Regions from separate parts of the Homo sapiens genome. Here region 2 is linked to region 1. The links are contacts of gene promoters, found by promoter capture Hi-C in human tissues and cell types (Jung and others, 2019). All regions are on one chromosome and are shown on one strand. Each heading gives the region's core, a stretch centred on a gene start or on the middle of the fragment in contact. The rest is flanking DNA. Distances are from core to core; before and after follow the strand shown.

Evidence for each region. Contacts are between HindIII fragments. The study calls those that stand out against the background at their distance.
Region 2: a fragment that was not itself captured here is called in contact with the fragment with the promoter of LAMC3 in region 1 in 1 of the 25 tissues and cell types used here (liver).

Annotation. Positions count from the first base shown.
Region 1 is chr9:131,006,587-131,012,063 of GRCh38, forward strand. LAMC3 (laminin subunit gamma 3) reads left to right here and starts at 2,588. Exons shown (of 28, transcript NM_006059.4): 1 at 2,588-3,001. The coding sequence starts at 2,629. The HindIII fragment of the contact is 10,117 bases long and covers 1-5,477 here.
Region 2 is chr9:132,152,874-132,158,350 of GRCh38, forward strand. No RefSeq gene overlaps it. Among named protein-coding and RNA genes, the nearest start is that of NTNG2, 6.4 kb to the right of the region's middle. RefSeq lists an enhancer at 1,600-2,100. The HindIII fragment of the contact is 3,649 bases long and covers 211-3,859 here.

The sequences.
Region 1 (5,477 bases), core at 1,338-3,837:
GGGATCACAGGTATGAGCCACCGTGCCTGGCACTAACATTTTTAAAAATTATATTTAACCATTGCATTGATCTAAAGACGGGTATATTAATATCATACGTTAAAACATGTTCTTCAGCCTAAAAGTTCTTTTTTTTCTTCTGACTTTAAAGATATTAGAACAGTTTTTGTGGGTTCCTAGAATTCCTGTGGGCTGCCATGTTTCCTGTGCCTGATAGATGAATTTGCTTTGGATGGGTGCACAGCCCAGCTCAGGGTAGCTGCGTGGACCATCAAGAGTCTGCTGCAATCATGTTCTTGACCATAAGAGAAAACTTTAACAAAGAAGCTTCCATAACACCATCAAAAAAACAATTTGGAATTACATTAAATGATATTTTAACTTGGGGAGAATTTGTATATTTAAACAGTTGGAAATCCGTGAATATAGATGCTGGTCTCTTCAGGTTTTCTGTCTCTCAGTAGCATTTTATAATTTGATTCATTTATATCTTGCACATTTCATACCAGATTTATTATTAGGTGTTCTACCATTTCCTACATCATTGCTGGCATCAGTTTTTTGTTTGTTTTGTTTTGTTTTTGTTTTGTTTTTTAAAAAACAGGGTCTTGCTCTATTGCATAGGCTGGAGTGCATTTGCGTGACCTCGGCTCACTGCAACCTCTGTCTCCTGAATTCAAGCGATTCTTGTGCCTCAGCCTTCCAAGTAGCTGGGATTACAGGTGTGCCACAATGCCTGGCTAATTTTTGTATTTTTAGTGGAGATGGGGTTTCACCATATTGCCCAGGCTGGTCTCGAACTCATGACCTCAGGTGATCTGCCTGCCTCAGCCTCCCAAAGTGCTGGGATTACAGGCGTGAGCCACCGCACCCAGCCAGAAAATGCCTATTGCTGGCATTGGTTTTCGTACTCTATCCTGTAGTCAGCCATCTTACGGAGCTCTTATTAATTTTAATAGTCTTAGTAGAATCTTTTAGATTTTCTAGATGTATGTTCAGGTAAGTAGAAGATATAAATATTTATATCTTTTAAGTTTTTTGTCTTATTGTATTAGCTAGAACTTCCAAAATAACCTTAGGTACCAGTGGTGATATCATATACTAACTCTACTTAGATATAGTTCTGAAATCTCTAACTTATTCCATGGGTCTATTCTGTAGTCCTTTCCACAACCGTATTGTTTTAATCATGTGTAAATAACTGGTAGTGAATCAGCCCACTACAGTTCATCTTGCTTCCAAAAATTTTCTTTCTTTCTTTTCTTTCTTTTTTTTTTTTTTGATGGAGTTTCTCTCTTGTTGCCCAGGCTGGAGTGCAATGGCATGATCTCAGTTCACTGCAACTTCTGCCCCCCGGGTTCAAACAATTCTCCTGCCTCAGCCTCCTGAGTAGCTGGGATTACAGGCACGCACCGCCACACCCAGCTAATTTTTGTGTTTTTAGTAGAGACGGGGTTTCACTATGTTGGCCAGGCTGGTCTCGAACTCCTGACCTCAGGTGATCTGCCTTCCTCAACTTCCCAAAATGCTGGGATTATAGGCGAGAGCCACCGCGCCAGGCCAGGAAATTTATTTCTATTTTCCTTAGAGTTCGTCTGGGAATGGCTGCCTTTTTTTTTTTTTTTTTTTCGAGACAGGGTCTGACTCTGTTGGCCAGGCTGGAGTGCAATGGCATGATCACAGCCCACTGCAGCCTAACCTCCCGGGCTCAAGGGATCCTTCCACCTCAGCCTCCCAGGTAGCTGGGACTACAGGCTTGTGCCATGACGCCGGGCTAATTTTTGTATTTTTTTGTAGAGATAGGGTCTCACTATTTTGCCCAGGTTGGTCTCGAACTCCTGGCCTCAAGTTATCCTTCCGCCTCCACCTCCCAAAGTGCTAGGATTACAGGCGTGAGCCACCGCGCACGACCTGGCTGCTAAATTTTATCGAATGACTTCTCTCCCTCGATTTGCTAATGTTAATAAATGGGGAGTAAAGGGGGCATTTATGGGGGTTGGGGCAGAAGACAAGGAAGCCCTCTCTGAGGTGACATTTGTGATAAGACCAGGTACCCTTGTCACAAATGTCAGGTTAGAATCTCTTTGCTGTGGGGACAGAGCGCAGCCGGCAGCAGGAGTGCTTTTCAGGGTTAAGGGCGACAGGAGCTATGCGGAGCCATCTCACAACCCTGTCCAGGGCACACTTTATTGCTAGGAGGAGATGCGCAAACGGTAGCGATCAGTTAGAGATAGATCCTCTTGTCCCCTTTTATCTCAGGACTCCAAGGCACTGCTGAACAGTTTCTGTTTAATGAGCAGCCATTGAAGCCTCCCAATGGCGAGAATGAGCCTGCATCTTTACCGACCCCACTCCACAGACGAGGAAACTGAGGCTCAAAGAGGCCCGGGTCGCCTCTGGGGCAGACTCCCGAGCCGCGCACTGCCGGGCACGTCCAGCAGGTGGGAGTGGGCGCCCGGGGACGGCGCGGTCCCTGGTATTTTTAGTGGGGTGGGGCCGCCGCCGCCCGCCCCTCCCTCCAGCCTCCCCGCCCCGCAGGGGAAGGCGGGTCCTGGCGGCCAGCGCGCGGTCCGCGCCCACCCTAGCCGAGCGGGGCCGGCAGAGCGCGCGGCGTCGGTGCCCTTGACCATGGCGGCGGCTGCGCTTCTGCTGGGGCTGGCGCTGCTGGCACCGCGGGCGGCCGGCGCGGGCATGGGCGCGTGCTATGACGGCGCAGGGCGCCCGCAGCGCTGCCTGCCGGTGTTCGAGAACGCGGCGTTTGGGCGGCTCGCCCAGGCCTCGCACACGTGCGGCAGCCCGCCCGAGGACTTCTGTCCCCACGTGGGCGCCGCGGGCGCGGGGGCTCATTGCCAGCGCTGCGACGCCGCCGACCCCCAGCGCCACCACAACGCCTCCTACCTCACCGACTTCCACAGCCAGGACGAGAGCACCTGGTGGCAGAGCCCGTCCATGGCCTTCGGCGTGCAGTACCCCACCTCGGTCAACATCACCCTCCGCCTAGGTAAGCGCGGGCTGGGGGCACCGCCACCGCACCCCGTGTCCCCACTCCACTGGGGGTCTGAGGCTGAGGCCTGAGCTGCTGTGCGCCCAGGTTGGGCTGCAGGACCCAGATATGGTGTTGGATGGAGGGGCTCAGAAATAGGAATTAGGCTGGGTGCGGTGGCTCACTCCTGAAATCCCAGCACTTTGGGAGGCCGAGATGGGAGGGTCGCTTGAGCCCAGGAGTTCAAGATCAGCCTGGGCAACGTAGTGAGATCCCATCTTTACAAAAAATAAAGAAAAATAGGCCGGGCGCGGTGGCTGACGTCTGTAATCCCAGCACTTTGGGAGGCCGAGGCGGGCGGATCACCTGAGGTCAGGAGTTCGAGACCAGCCTGGCCAACATGGTGAAAACCCGTCTCTACTAAAAATAGAAAATTTGGCCGGGCGTGGTGGTAGGTGCCTGTAGTTCCAGCTACTCAGGAGGCTGGGGCAGGAGAATCGCTTGAACCCGGGAGGTGGAGGTTGCCGTGAGCCGAGGTCGCACCACCGTTCTCCAGCCTGGGCAACAGAGCTAACTCCGTCTCAAAAAAAAAAAAAAAAAAAAAAAAAAGCTGGGCGTGGTGGTGCACACCTATGGTCCCAGCTACTCAAGAGGCTGAGGCAGGAGGATCACTTAAGACTGAGAGGTTGAGGCTGCATGAAATATGATAGTGCCACTGTGCTACAGCCTGGGCTACAGAGTGAGACCTTATCTCTTAATAAAAAGAAAGAATGAAAAAAAGAAGAAAAAAAAACAGGACCTGTACCCCTAGATAGCCAGAAGGATAGACTGAGGGGTGCCCCGTGGGGCGGGAGAGGCAGGGAGTCACTTGCTGAGCTTTGGTTCTAGGTTGCAATTATAATCCCCTGTAATGGTTTTCCATCCTAGACCAGAACTGTTGGGGAGGTGACACACCAAGGACTGAATTGGTCACCCTCTAGGGCAGGGGCTCCTGATCTTGGGTCTTCTGGTCAACTTCAGGTATTCAGTGGACCCCTGAAGCTGCCTGCAGTCCTCGGGTGGGTTCTGGAAGATAGAAGCTGTGATGTTCATCACTGCACAGGCAAAGTTTAACCCTCTGGGGAGGAGGACTAAGTTTCTTCGTGCTGCTGGGCAGCTGCGCCCGGTGGCATGGCCTCTCTGCCCTGCTCATGACTTGCCGAGGTGCAGAAGCCCTTAGATCTCCAGGAATCAGAATCTGGAGTCTGGACCCAGCCCCGGTTCTCAGCCCCTGCCCCCACTGCAGGGAGCTGGAATGCTCTCTCCTCCCTCCGTGTTCAGCCCGATTCCCATGTCCTCTGTGGCCGGGTAAGCGCCAAGTGTCTTTCCTGTTGCAGCCTCCACTGCCCTTTCAGGAGGGGCTGGTATCACTGGTTAGACTCCCTTATCTTCGAGGTCAGCCTCCCAAAGCTTTGAAAACTCAAATTATTTTTATAACTCATTTTTGCTGCTAAACCTGACCTGAGGCTATTTATAAGCTATGTTTATGCTAGTGAGAATGAATATTCATTCGCTTTGCTACTGAAATCTCATTTGAGTACAGCCGGCAGCCCCAGACCCCACTGGGGGTATTAGCACAATATATGGTATAAGGCCTGCATCGTCTTTCTAAAAGCTGAAAAATGTTCAATTCCCAAACACATTTGGAGCCTAGGAGTTTGGATTAGGGATGATGGGACTGTATCCCATGTTTCAGCTGAGAAAATTGAGGCTCAGAGAGGTTGTTTTGCCCAAAGGCACAGAGCTGCTAAGTGAGCATCTGAGCGTGGACATCCATGGACATCAGAGGTCAGAGCATAAACTCTTTGATGTGAGTTCCGCCACCCATCAACTGAGTCAGCTCCACCTCAGCCTGGTGACAGTGTCCTGGGGAGGGCTGGGAAGTGACATTGGAGTGGGGTGCGGGGAGGACCGTGAGCCCGCTCTGCAGAGCACACAGGTACTGGCTGCCACCTCAGAAACTCCCTTCTTCTGGGGCCACGTCACCTTCTCTCAGCCTATCTGGATCACTAGGTGGGGCTTCTGAATGGGACGAGGGGGAGGGGACAGGAAGCCAGTGGGGAGGGGGGAGGCTGGGGGAGCTGTCTGGATGGAGCTGGCAGGACCCCAAGGCCACAGGGGAAGGAATCTGGGACAGGGTGGGGAGTTGTTGGGGAGACACAGTGCTCCATGACAAAGGGTATCACATGTGTCCTGGGAACCCAGGGGCCAAGGAAAGAGCTCAGCCCAGGCACAAACAAGGTGGGAGGAAGTTGGGAGAAATGGCCAAGTTTTTGGATTTGAGGTAGTTCCTGTTTACTGTGCATCTACTGTGTGCCAGGCCCTGTGCTGAGCTGTGCACCCTCGTGGAACTCTGCCTAGAACCTTAGAAGCAGAGTGGTTCTGATCCTTCTAAAAGCAAGGAACCTGAGAGCCTCCACACTGTGAATGTAGAGAGCGAACACACACACACATA
Region 2 (5,477 bases), core at 785-3,284, 1.1 Mb after region 1:
GGAAGAGCCCCCGCTTCCAGGTCTGGCACATGTTCTGTTATGTGGGGCGCGAGTAGGGGTTTGGAAGAGAGAGGTGGTGCTTTTGGCTGCACAGTGAATGGGTGTTGTAAGCTGACCTCAGAGAATGAGTTCATTTGAACAGGAGTTCAGGGATATATCCCTCTATTTGACAGGAAAGTATATTTTCTTTGCCTTCTAATGTCGCCCTAGTTCACCATCTTATGAATTCAAAGCCAAAGGTGGCCTTTCCCCCTTTGAGGTGGGGTGAGCACTCCCTGTTGCTAGAGGCCCAAAGGCTGTGCTAGGTAAGGGGAGGCCCTTCTGCTCAGGCTGGGGACACTTTCCAGGGTCAAGGGTTCACCTGCTGCCGGCAGGCTGATCACATGTGGGGCTCCTACACCCCTCTGAGCACTCTGCACTCATCATTGCATTCTTAACTTCTCACGACAACCCTGAGAGGTGGTGCTGTTGTGCCCATTGTACAGATGGAAAATTGAGGTGAGAAGGCGTGCCCAAACACATAAGTGGCAGCACAGGGACTCTCAGCCCGGGCTGTCAGGTTCTGAGGCCAGGCTCATAAATGTCAAGCTTACCGCGAATGTGGCCAAAGACCATCATATAGGCCACTGGAGGACCATCCTGGGGCCGTCTCAGCATCCCCAGGTGACCACGCCACACGTGCTTGGCTCAGAGTCCCATCGGCCTCAAGGTGATCTCCAAAAGCAGTGAAAGAAGCTGGGGTCATCAGAACTACAGAGAGGGGTCCTGGAGGAGCCTCTGGGCAGGGCAGGGAAGGGAGTGGGCCAGATAACCACAGAACTGCGTCGTGCAGCCAAGTTGGACTCCAGAACCAGCAGAACCAAGAGAGGAAGTCGGGCCCAGAACTTTTGTTTTCCCAGATTCAAAAGAAAAATCTCCTGGGAGTCCTTTTGAATGTGAGAAGCCATGTCCCTCCAACTCCCAGGTGACGCAAAAAGCAAAGCATGTGGCCAAGTGACCCTGGCTGCTTTTCCCTCCCAGCCTGCACGTCTGTGTTTACTCCACCAGTAAAAAAAAAAAAATGAACCCAGTGAAAAAGGAGTGAAGGGTAGGGATGGGAGGCAGAAGACTCTGTGAGGAATCTCCAGGGCCGACAACTCACCGGGACCTCCAGGAGGGGGAGGAGTCCCACCCCCAGAAATGGGGGCAGCATGGGCTAAGTGTGGACATCCTAGAGGTCGCGGGCAATGGCCAGCCAAGTCCACGGAGTGAGAGACCAGTGGCAGCTGGAGCTGTCTCCATCCATTAGGTCGAGTGTCATGAAACAAGAAATCCAAGCTGGTTCCCAAGATCAGGAGTTGACTTTGTGAGCGATGGTACCTGCCACCTTCTAGGGAGCCCTGATCCCAAGGCCTTCCTTTGAATAGAAAAGATCGACCAAGAGGGAGGCAGGACGAGGAAGAGAGAGGGACCCTGTCTCACCGTGTCTTACAGCCTGGACTGCTGGAAAGCACAGATGTGGGGATGTTTGGGGAAACATCACTGTGTTTCCTTTTGGCAGGATTCAGAACAAGGGCCAGGGCCAAGGTCACAGGACTCAGAATTCAGTGCTTTGATGGACCAAGAGTTTGTATGCCAATGGTGACAACTTAATGAGGAAATGGTTGCACACAACAGAGCATGTGTGAATGTGCACGTGAGATCAGGAAGGAGGCAGCCAGGGAATACTCCTCTGTTGATCAGTTTCTCTTGCTGTGGGTCGTCTTTCAGAATTTTCAGCTGCCTTTCGTTACAAAGATCGCTGCGCCCAGCTTGCCTACAGCTGTCGTTCATCTGTGTAGGACTTTGCATGGTTGCAAATGGGTGCTTTTGGGGTGGGGCCTACATGGGGCTCTTTTTGAACGACGACAATGATCAAGCGAGCAGGGTGTGGGGGTGCAGTGCTCTGAAGGCCGCTGCAGGGTTGGTGAGCTCCCCGGGGCAGTGGGAGGCAGAGGGCTGAGGCACAGAGCAGGTAGTTCTATAAGTGGGTCAATTATTTAGTGATCAGCACATGTCTGAGAGGAAGGCCACATCTGCTTTGCTGTCCTGGAGGCCCAGATCCCCTGCCCAATAAGGAAGAAAGATGTTTTCCTCTAGGGGAGGAGTCGCCGGGTGGGAGGGGGAGGCAGCTTCCTCCTGCTGATAATGCATTTTCCCTTCTGATTGCAGCCTTTCCTCAGCTCCTGCTCTCCTTGCTGATGCAAACCTCTTCTCAATCACCTCCACACGCCCCTGCTGCCCCGAGCGGGAGGCTGTGAGAAGCCTGCACACCTGGCGAGAGGATGAGGCAGACCCAGGAGAAAGATTCCATGACTCGGCCAGCTGCGGCTCCTTCCACAACTTCTCCTGCTCCCCACATTGGGAGTCGGGAGAAACTGTCCCAAAAGCAGGAGAGGAATGGGTGGGATGAGGGTGGAAATTCGGATTCGGATTCAAGAGCAGATTCTGAATTGTTCATATGTGAAAAGAGACACTGTGGCTGGGAGGAGAGCTGGGGCTGGTGTTTCCATTTATTTCCCAGGCTTGATGGCCAGGTGACACTGGTTAGTCTAACCCCATTACTCTTCTGACACGGAGCAATGTTCCCCTGGACTCCCCATCATCGTGGAACAGAGAGCCTTGGCCAGAGGAGAGACTCGGCCAATGACGACTAATCAGAGCCGACATTTCTTGATCATCTACTACCTGAAATAATTCCTACACATTTTCTCAGTGAATCCGTCCAACAATCCCAGGAGGTAGGTGCCATGACTATCACCACTTGACAGGTGAGGAACTGAGGCCCAGAGAGGTGGGAGTGGAGGTCTGGGTTCCCACCAAGCCTGGGGATTGCTCTTGGCGCTCCTAGTTTGAGCTTTCCTTGTCTCCTATCCTGAGAGGTAGGACTCGCCTCCACCATTGACTTTGTGTTGTCTAGTGTTTTTGGCAATACTGCCACATGCCTGCATGCATGTGTGTGCATAGGCATACACATACCCACTCACACTTCCTCAGACTGCACCGCCTCCCTGGTTTGGCCTGTGTCTGGCACATAGTAGGTGCTCAGACAACCTTTGTGAGGTGCACAGGCAGCCTGGTCCATGAGATGTGAATAATCCCACTAGACTTGCTGCACCCCAAAGGCAGGACCCAGTGGATCTGTCACCATGGGCATCCCCAGGGCTGGGGGATGCTGGCCCACAGTAGGTACTCAGTGGGTAGGCCACAATTGCCCAGAAGATGCCCCCTGAGCTCGAAGCTGGCAGGGCTGGGCAGTTACCCGCTCTCACTGAAAAAGGGGTGCCAATGCTCCTTTGCATCCTGTCTCCTGAGACTGAGGAGTCCTCAGGGACTCCGGAATTTATGGCAGTGAGCAGCGATGGGTCCTGCCTCTGGGGCTTCCAGACGAGAGACCGGCTGCCTGCCTGGCTGTCTGCTGCTCCATGGAGTGTGGAGGAGGTGGGCTTCCTTCTCACAGCAGCCACCCCTCGCCAGGGAGCTGAGCAGCTTTGCCTGGAGGAGCCTGGGCTCTTCTGGGCTAAGCTTTGCTGCTTTCCTCTCCCTGTCATGCTGCTGGAACTCGGGAAAGAGACATTTCCATGGGAACTCACGGATTGGAGGGATCCCAGCCAGGCTTCTGGTGGAAGAAACTTTGCAGACAAAGGCACAGTGGCACAGTAGTATTTCCACCCAGTCCACAGGGGCTGTTCTCACCTGCCCAGGGCTCACTTGCCATGAAACCTGGAGAAGGCACCAACTCACTCCCAGCTCCCAGTCCCTGTATCTTTTTTTTTTTTTTTTTTTTTTTTTGGCTCTGTCACCCAGGCTGGAGTGCAGTGGTGCGATTCAGTCTCAGCTCACTGCAACCTCCACCTCCCAGGTTCGAGCGATTCTCATGCCTCAGCCTCCCAGGTAGCTGGGACTACAGGCACGCACCACCACCACGCCTGGCTAATTTTTGTATTTTTAGTAGAGACAGGGTTTCACCATGTTGGCCAGGCTGGTCTCAAGCTCCTGACCTCCAGCGATCCACCTGCATCAGCCTCCCAAAGTGCTGGGATTACAGGCGTGAGCCACCGCGCCCAGCTAGTCCCTGTATCTTTTGCTGGCAAGTGGAGACTGCGATGCCGGTTCCCTCCCAGGGCTGTTGGGAAGAAACAATCTTGGAATGATAAGCTTGGGACTGAGACCATATATCAGCGAGCCCAGCCATGAGGCCTGTATTCAAATAGGAGCCCTGCCTTCCCGGAATAACCTAGGACACATCCTTCAACCTTGGTATTCTCGTCTGAAGAATGGCCAGGATAAGAGTCTCTTTCACAGAACGGTGGTTAAAGCAGAAATTGGAGATTGTAGTAAACTGCTGTGCTTGGTGCCTGAGTGTGTAATACCAGAGCCACCTTGTGTTAAGCACTTTCTAGAAGCCAAATCGATTTCAAGCATTAGTTCACTAAATCCTTAGACCAAGCCTAGGTATTGGAGACCATTCTAACCTCCATTTTCCAGGTGAAACAAATGAGCCTTGGCAAGGTGAGTCACATAGCCGGGAATGGGACCCCAGGGCTGCTTGACTCTGAAGCCCCAAATTTCAACTGTGACTGTATTAAGTGCTCATTTAAGATCTGGAAGAACCAACAAGGTTCAGCCACCATCCCATTTCACAGCTGAGAAAATTGAGATCCAGAGCAGGGAAGAGCCCAGTCGAGTCGCAGAGCTGCTGGTGCTGGAACCAGGCCTAAGGTTCCACAATGGCTGCTCACATTTATTGAGCACTTACTGTGTGCCACGTTCGAATTGCTTTCTGTCCATCATTTTATTTGATCTTTACCATAACTCTAGGAAGATGGAGACTATTACAATCCCATTTTTCATTTGGGTAAAGTGAGGCAGAGAGGGAAGTAACTTACTCAAGGTTGCACAGCTAATTAGCAGGAGAGGCACGACTCATACCCAGAGAGTCAGGCTCTAGAGCCCTCATCCAAGCCGCTTTGTGGCACTGCCTCCCAGCCGGGGCAGGCTGGCCTTGCCCGGCAGCCTGGGGCCTAGGTCGACTTGCCTGCCAAGGAGGTGGAGTCTGCACGACTCCTACGGTATGGCCGCCACCGGGAAAGGCAGGGTGCCGCTGAGCTGCAGTACTCAGGGAGATGGGCACGGAGCTGGGACTGGCAAGCTCAGTGTGCTCGAAGGCCATTAGCCCCCTGCGTCTCCGAAGAGAAGTTTATCCAACAAAATGCAGGCAAGCAAAGAACACGTTCCACTTTATGTGTCTCTTGTTGTAGGCAGTACACATCTTGGGAGATGTGTGGATGAAAGGCGCCATATAAAATGCAATCAATTATGAATCACCATTACTGAATTAATCACATGTATGATTAATACAGTCATAATAATTAATGGGAGTATGGTCTAGAGATTAGAGCTGAGGACTGACAGGGAGGGGTCAGAGTGCTTCTAGTAGCCTCTGCCACTGCCTAGAG